Regions from separate parts of the Homo sapiens genome. Here all the other regions are linked to region 3. Evidence: promoter capture Hi-C in 16 types of primary human blood cells and fetal thymus (Javierre and others, 2016). All regions are on one chromosome and are shown on one strand. Each heading gives the region's core, a stretch centred on a gene start or on the middle of the fragment in contact. The rest is flanking DNA. Distances are from core to core; before and after follow the strand shown.

Evidence for each region. Contacts are between HindIII fragments. The CHiCAGO score rates a contact against its expected background, and 5 or more counts as called.
Region 1: a fragment that was not itself captured here is called in contact with the fragment with the promoter of CDHR2 in region 3 in 1 of 17 cell types (M0 macrophages); the score reaches 5.7 in M0 macrophages.
Region 2: a contact is called between a fragment that was not itself captured here and the fragment with the promoter of CDHR2 in region 3, in 1 of 17 cell types (naive B cells). The highest score is 5.9, in naive B cells.

The regions. Positions count from the first base shown.
Region 1 is chr5:176,901,340-176,904,039 of GRCh38, forward strand. No RefSeq gene overlaps it. Among named protein-coding and RNA genes, the nearest start is that of HK3, 3.3 kb to the left of the region's middle. The HindIII fragment of the contact is 1,138 bases long and covers 712-1,849 here.
Region 2 is chr5:176,966,310-176,969,098 of GRCh38, forward strand. It overlaps UIMC1 (ubiquitin interaction motif containing 1), which reads right to left. Exons shown (of 15, transcript NM_001199298.2): 6 at 2,246-2,789. Among named protein-coding and RNA genes, the nearest start is that of UIMC1, 39 kb to the right of the region's middle. The HindIII fragment of the contact is 1,963 bases long and covers 333-2,295 here.
Region 3 is chr5:176,547,933-176,550,769 of GRCh38, forward strand. It overlaps CDHR2 (cadherin related family member 2), which reads left to right and starts at 1,410. Exons shown (of 32, transcript NM_017675.6): 1 at 1,410-1,482. RefSeq lists an enhancer at 1,682-2,615. The HindIII fragment of the contact is 9,099 bases long and covers 1-1,559 here.

The DNA of each region.
Region 1 (2,700 bases), core at 31-2,530, 350 kb after region 3:
TTTCTTATTCACCCGTGCAGCCTCAGACCTCAGTTCTTTATCTGGCAAGGAACAAGTATCAATTAATTTTTGTTAAATTGAAGAGCCCTCCCACAATCTCAATAGTCCACGGCTGGCCAAGCATGATGGCTCACGCCTGTAATCCCAACACTTTGGGAAGCCGAGGTGGACGGATCACTTGAGGTCAGGAATTCATGATCAGCCTGGCCAATACAGTGAAACCCCGTCTCTACTAAAAATTAAAAAAATTAGCCGGGCGTGGTGGTGTGCACCTGTAATCCCAGCTACTCGGGAGGCTGAGGCAAGAGAATTGCTCGAACCTGGGAGGCAGGGTAAGTTGCAGTGAGCCGAGATCACGCCACTGTACTCCAGCCTGGGTGACAGAGCAAGACTGTCTCAAAAAAAAAAAAAAAAAAAAAAAAAGTCCAGGGCTTTTGAAACTGAGAGGAAGCAAGCAAGCTCTTACTGTCTTCCTGGTGCATATGGTTTCAGCAGTCTTTCCACTAGTCCATCTTTCCACTGACAACTACAACCCTCTCATCCACTTACTACCTGCCTTCCCCTCCCCAAATTCCCATCTGCTAACAACCTAAGGCCAAAGCTACCCTGATTCACAGGCAAAAATGAGCTCATCCAAACCTGAAATTTCCCTTGAGTCATTAGTTTTGTGACTGAAATGAGAAGTAGGAAGTAGTGTGCTATAGTACAGAAAGCTTCAGCTCTGGGGTCAGGCAGACCTGGTTTCAAAATCCCATCTCATTACCAACTGAAAGACCTTAGACAAATTTCTTATTCCTCTGAGCCTCGGTTTTCCTTGTATAAAACTTGGAGACTGATGTCTTCATAGGATTTGCTTTAGGTTAGGTAAACCCAGAGGCAGACCTAATTTGAATGCAAATAACTTTATTTGGGAAGTGATCCAGGACAGGGCCAGAATCAGGGCAATGCAAATGATATGCCTAGGGTACAGAATGTAAAGAGACCCTCTCAGGTTCATACGGGTGCCAACCTTGCACTTAGATGAACCCAAGAATAAAGGCTCATCACCCTAGTCCCAGTCCTGATCAGGAAAATACAGAAGAGGAGCTGGAAGCCAGGTAGGAAGAGAAAGAAGCCAAGGAAGTGTACGTTAATTGTTACTGGGAGCTTAGAGAGGTTCACTCCCACAGGGAACCCTGAGAAATAGGTAGAATGTGCCTTAGAGTTGTCCCTCACTGAGTGAGGAAGCTGGGGTATCTATCCTCCCACTTCCACTGGCTGAGAGCTGTCCCAGGGGCACTAACTCCCTGGTACTCTCAGCTTGTGCCAACACAAACCAAGAGAAGTCCTCAGGCAGAGTCTCAGGTACTTGCAACAGGACTCTGTGGGTATACAGCAGAATGGCGAATGCCTGGGGGAAATGGGCGAGGCACAACCTCTGCTGGGGCTGCTGTAAGGACTAAATGAAAAAGCACAACTACAGCGCCTAACAAAGAGAAGTCCCCCTCTATCTCTTCCAATTTACGGCAATAGCTTGTGAAGTTTATGGAGCTTCCCAGCTCTCCGTGAGTTGGCAGCATCAGCAGAACAGCTATTTCTCATCTTTCAGAAGTAAAAGAAATCCAGGGGCCCTAGGAGAACTCTAGATGCCTGGGACCCAAGTTTCCTGTGGAAGCCTGATGGTTGATGGAGCCCGAGTAGTCCCTCCTGAGTACACATTCCTCTGAAAACTATCTCCTCTTGCATCTGCACCCGTCCCCCATCCCTCCACCCCTCAGTGCAACATCATTTGTGACACATAGACTAGCATCACATTAATAACTGCTGCCACTAACTCATTCTTCTATGTGATGACATTGTGCTGGATCAAAGCTTTATCCACATTATGGTAATCCTTAGAACCCTGTTAGTATGATCTTTTCCCATTTTATGGACAAGAAAGCCAGGTCTCAGAGAGGTTAACTTTTATCAGAAGCAGGGTGCAGATGTAGGCTGATCTCACACATTTTATACTTTGTCTCTTCACTCTTTCACTAATGCTCCTCTCACAGGATCACAGCATGGGGAGAATAAGACTGTGGGCAAACAAGACGGTTGTGAGGAGGCGATGGGGGAAGTGGGTAGCTGTTCTTCCCTTGACTCCCCATTAGCTAATAATTAAGCCTGTGGTTCCTGGTCTGGCTGATCCATACCCTCCTGCTGCTGACTCATGTTTTAGGGAAACTGCTCAATTTTAAGCTAAATAATTCACTTTCCAGAAGTACCCTTTCCCTTTTCTTATCTTCAGGCAAACAGATACACACACTGTCCCCTGTTTATACAGCGCTACCTCCAATAAATTGCCATTTAATGAAAGAGAAAACAAGCGAGAGTTAAGCTTATGGGACATAACTGATAAACTACTTTTCACTAGAAGAAAAACAGGAAAATAATCAATACTGGAGTCAAAATATAGCATTTTCTTCAGGAATGAAGAGTAGGGGCACTGTGGTTCCACTGCCATGGACAAAAAGTGGCTTATTTGTTACTCTAAGCCTTTGCTTCCTCATCTGGAAATTGAGATGATAATACCTATACCCCATAGGGTTGCTATGAGGATTAAATGAAGGCCACATACATTGCCTGGACCGTAGTAGTTGCTCAAAAAATAACAGCTATTTCTTATGTGCTGCTAGCCACTAGGTCAGTGCCATCCAACAGCAAGACATTATCTATGGAAGG
Region 2 (2,789 bases), core at 64-2,563, 420 kb after region 3:
CACTGTATAGACGTGAAACTGGGATTCAAAGAGGTTAAGTGACTTGCTCAAAAACACACAAATTACTAAACACAAAAATCAGAACTCAACTCCAAATCCATGTTCTCTATTCTATGAAGCTCCTCAAAGTTACCATTTCTTGAACCTTTATCATAACACAAGAAAGACAGAATAACATAATAGTAAAACAAAACCAAAAGTCAAAGTCTGGTAACAGAAATAGCAAGAAAAAACAGTATAGTCATAAAACAGAATACTCTTTAAAATTACAATTTATATATAAAGAGTTTATATTATTGCTTTATAATATTCAAAGGGAAAAATAAGATATAAGCTTTCATACACAATATAATCTAGCTACTTCAGAAAAAGCAAACTAAATGTACCAAGATGAAGATTGGTTTCAATAAATTATTCAAAACCACTACAAGCAAAATAATAAATATACACCATTATGTAATGGGAAAAAATAACTCGGAAACTATCCATACTTCATATCACAAAGGACTACTTTCTCTACTATATAAAGTGTATCCACAAACCAATAGATTATCAAAAGAAAAAATGATCATAAGATCTAACAGACAGAAAAGGAAATACAAATGGGTCTTAGACATGTGAGAAAAAAGTTCAGCCTCACAAATAGTAAGAGATACGCAAATTAAGACTACACTGAGACGCCATTTTTCATCTCTCAGACTGGCAAAGATCAAGAAGTCTGACAATACTGCATTACTGTAGGTATGGAGAAACTAGTATTCATACACTGCCAGTGGGAATGTAAATGTATATGATCTCTATGGAGGGCAATTTGGCAACAGCTAATGAAATTATAAATACATTTTTTGGTCCACCAATTACAGCTACAGAAAATTATCATATAATACAAATATCTTCCATGTGGATGAAATGTCTTCTGGACATTTTACTATCTGTAACAGTAAACTCTGACTAATCCACACATGGTATTTTTCACATCCAAAAAAAAAAAAAGATGAAGAAATTCTTTATATACTGTTATGTAATGATCTCATTAGGATATTAAATGAAAAAAGTAGAAAATAATGTGTAAATCATTTGTGTAAAAGAAGGCAGGGAAAAGAAAATGTATTCTGCTTGTACCAGATAAAGTATCTTGGAAGGATACACTAGAACTAGTAACACAAATTTGAGTCCAGAGAGGGGAACTGGCTGGCTAGGTGATAGGGAGAAAAGTTAAGACTTTTTACTTATATATTTTTGAATTTCGAGCCATGTGAATATTGTTACCTATTCAAAAATTTAACCTTTCAGAAATAATAATAATTTTTAGACCAGGCGTGTTGGCTCATGCCTACACTGCCAACACTTCAGGAGAACAAGGTAGGTGGATGGCTTGAGTACAGGAGTTCGAGACCAGCCTGGGCAACAAAGTGAAACTCAATCTCTACAAAAAATATAAAAATTAGCTCAGCGTAGTAGCGTGCACCTATGGTCCCAGCTATTGCGACGGGCTGAGGTTGGGGGATCGCTTGATCCCAGAGGTGGAGGCTGCAGGGACCCAAGATGGCATCGGTGCACTCTAGCCTGGGTGACAGAGCGAGACCTTGTCTTTAAAAAAAAAAAAAAAAAATTTATACAAAAAATAAATTATGGTTTATCTATGGTAGAATAAGTCATCTATTAAGAAATGATCTAAGATAAACTATAAAGTAGGGAGAGGAACAAAACTTAACACAGAAGAGTCTTCATTTTGTTCAAAAAATTTTTTCATGTATTTTTGTATGCATAGAAATGATGACTGGCCAGGTGTGGTGGCTCACGCCTGTAATCCCAACACTTTGGGAGGCCAAGGCATGCAGATCACAAGGTCAGGAGTTCAAGACCAGCCTAGCCAACAGGGTAAAACCCCGTCTCTACTAAAAGTACAAAAATTAGCAGGGCATAGTGGCAAGCACCTGTAATCCCAGCTACTTGGAAGGCTGAGGCAGGAGAACTGCTTGAACCCGGGAGGTGGAGATTGCAGTGAGCCGAAGATTGCGCCATTGCACTCCAGCCTGGGAGACAGAGCGAGACTCCAACTCAAAAAAAAAAAAATGGTAGTTTTTTTCTTCTTTATACTCTCCTGTACTTTCCTAATTTTCTATAGTGAACATGTATTACTTTAATAATCAAGGAGGGGAAGACCACAAAAATAACAGCTAAAATAATCCTTGTTTTAATCTGTGAATAAATCATCCTTAATTACAGCATCACTGACCCTTACCTGACCATGACTGGTTGTTGGTTCTTCCTCCAACAAAAGTTTCTCTTTCAAGCTTTTAATTGAGCTTTCCTGGAAATCCTTGGTTTTTGAGTGCCAGTCAGATGCCCTAGACTCCTGCCTCTCCTCTTTGTCTTCATCTCCCATATCTTCTGAGATGCATTCATTTTTCTCACTAGCCTGCTCTCCTTGGCCACATTCATTCTGGATCAGAGAAGGAGGTCTAGGTAACACTGGTTCCCCAAAACCTTTTTTATTAAGGAGCTGCCTCTGAGCCATTTTCAGGCTCTTTTGATAAACCTCCAACTGGCAGAGAATGACCTTGGTATACTGGTTAGGGTCTACTCCATCAGGGCAGAATGGAATACCCCAGAAATAGTTCACAGTGCCCCCAGTGTCCTGGAGACCTTTGGCATCTGCTAGGGTAGGTAGACAGTGCCTAGATGTGTCCCCGCTACCCTGGACAGCTTTGAGAAAAGCAGAACCCCTCCCAGTACTTTCCTGTGGCTTCCCACACTGTGTGTGCTCAGCCGAGTGGCCAGTACAT
Region 3 (2,837 bases), core at 160-2,659:
ACGGGGACACCTTCTGGGAAATGTGTCATCAGGCAATTTCGTCATTGTGTGAACATCACACAGTGACTTACACAAACCTAGGCGGTACCACCTACTACACACCCAGTCTCTATACCACCGCCTGTGCTCCTGGGCTGCTAACCTATGCAGCCTGGGACTGTACCGCACGCTGCAGGCAACTGTAACACAGGGGTAAGTATTTGTGCATGTAAACACAGAAAGGGTGCCATGAAAGATGATATTATACTCTTATGGGACCGCTATTATATGTGTGGTTCGTTGTTGACCAAAACACAGATATATGGTGCATGACTATATATCTATTGTGAATTAGACATGTCCTCTGCCCACAAGAAGAGGGCCACCCAATGGTGACGACTCAGTGGTGTGCCTTAAGAAAGTTGTGCCCAGGGTCCCCTTTCTGTGTCAACTGTGATGGCTGGGCCAAAGTGAGGATAAGAAGGACTTGTGGCTGAGCCCCTTCGGGAGGCCACCACATCGGGCAGCGCTTAAAGCCAGCCTGGGGGCCGAGCTCCGTGGCTCATCCCTGTAATCCCAGCATTTTGGAAGGCCGAGGCAGGCGGATCGCCTGAGGTTAGGAGTTCGAGACCAGCCTGGCCAACATGGTGAAACCCTGTTTCTACTAAAAATACAAAAAAAATTAGCCGGGTGTGGAGGCCCACGCCTGTAATCCCAGTTACTCGAGAGGCTGAGGTAGGAGAATTGCTTGAACCCAGGAAGCAGAGATTGCAGTGAGCCAAGATTGTGCCACTTCACTCCAGCCTGGGTGACAGAGCAAGACTCTGACTCAAAAATAAATAAATAATTAAAAAAAAAAGGCAACTTGGGAGTGGATGAAGCCCCTGGGGACGGGCAGATGCCTTTTGAGGGTCTCAATGCGGGGTGAGATCAGTGTCAACAGGCTCGAAAGTGGGTTGTCCAGGCTCAGCTAGCCCCCAGTCCTCCACGAGAACCTCACAGGGGCTGGTCTGGCCACACAGTGTTTGATTGTTACACTGTTTTACCACTTCCCTCTCCTGACTCAATCCCCCACTTGTCCACAGATCCCCTGTCACTGAAGACTCGTAGCAGGGAGGGGACGGGGGCTCTGGCATCACCTTCTGACTGTCACCGTCCCCGCCTCCAGCCTGCCCCAGTGTTGGGCCTTGTTCCCAGGTCCTCTGGGCTCAGGGTCGGCCAGGCCCCTTCTCCTGTGGTGTGGGCCTCCAGCCCCAGGAGCGCCAGGAGCTCTGGCGCCTTGGTCCCTTCCTCCTGTCCGGCGCCCCCAGCTGTACTCTGCCTCATTAGGAGTCGACCCCTCCTGGGAGGTGTGGTCTCTGGCAGGGTTAATGATTGCTCAGTGGAGGTGGAGATGGTGCCAAAGTCTGCTGGCCACATAGCTGCAGGCCGCAGAGGGTGCCCACCTGTGTGCCAGCGCCTGTCCGGCGCCTGCCTGCCGCCTCCGTGGCGAAGGGGACACAGGTAGGGACTATCCAGCTCATCGGGGGTCTCTGGGCCAGAGAAATGTGGGGGTTGGGGGGATCCCTAGAGCCAAGGCAAGCTTGGGGGTCTTTAAAAGTCTCCCCTGAAGCTGGGCAGGGGAAGTCACACGCTAGATGGGGCAGAGCCGGGTCAGGTCCCAGCCTGCTGTGAGGCCTGTTTCTTTGGTAAACATGGGATAATAATACCTCCTTCCCTGGGGGCTGATGGCCCCCTTCCCATCCAAGTCCTCAAGGGATGATTCTTCAGAGGATGGAAGGGAGGCAGGCACCCCAGGGAAACGAGGTAACTGGCCTGACCCCTTCATAGGATGCTCAGGGGTTGAGGACGGGGAAGCTGACCTGGGCTCTTACCCCAGCTGCTCGGTTCACATCCCAGCTCCACCCTGACCTTGGTGGGCTACTTAACTCTTCTGGGCCTCCGTTTCCTCATTTATCAAATGGGGATGAGAAGAGTTCCAGAAAGGGCCTGAAAAGCCCTGAGGCAAAGGTGAGCATGTGGCCTATGACCGAGCCCAGTGCCACCTCAGCCAGTGCTAGGAAGTGTCAGGCAGGGACTGACCCAGGCTGGCCCCAGCTCTGCCCAGTCCGGGCCTTGCACATCTCTCTGCCCTGGTAGAGGAGGTGGTGACCCAGCTGAGAGTCGGGGCCATGCTGCGTCACTCAGGCAGGCCTGTGCTGGGTTGGGCACCAGGCACAAGGCAGGGTCCCAGTGAGCACCGAGGTCCGGCAGATGGAAACAAGTCATGGCCCGTGTGTAGACCCCTTGATTTTTATCCTCACTCTGCTTCTCAGCAGGGGAAACTGAGGCCTGGAGAGGGGAGAGGGCTTGCCTGGGGTTGCACAACAAATATGTGAAATGCTGCCATCTGAACCCAGGGCTGTTTGAGTCTGTATGTGTCTGCTGGGCCAGGTGGCCTGGGCCATAGGCACTGGGAGGGCCCGTGGCGGGGAGCTGCGTGCTCAGGTCCCACATCCTTGCTCCGGGCACCCAGGCTCGGCTGGAGTCCGCTCTGTGGGTGCAGGCACGGCCTCCTGGATCAACGGAGCCCAGACCAAGGCTTGCCCAGGGACCCCTGGATTTGGAGGCAGCCTGGGTCTAACCTGCTGCCCCTGGCTCACCCATCTCTGGGCATCTATGAGCCTCGGTTTCCTTGGAATAATAGGATAGGATAATTCCTGCTTGGGAACAGCTGTGAGAAGTAAATGAAAAAGCAGAAGTGAAAGTGCATGGCGAGCTGGCCGTGTAGCGGTGGCGGTGCTGGGGGAGCTCTGTAGCATCGTGGCTGAGTGCACCCCGGGGGCTCCCCACACTGAAGGAGGACCCACCTCCCCACC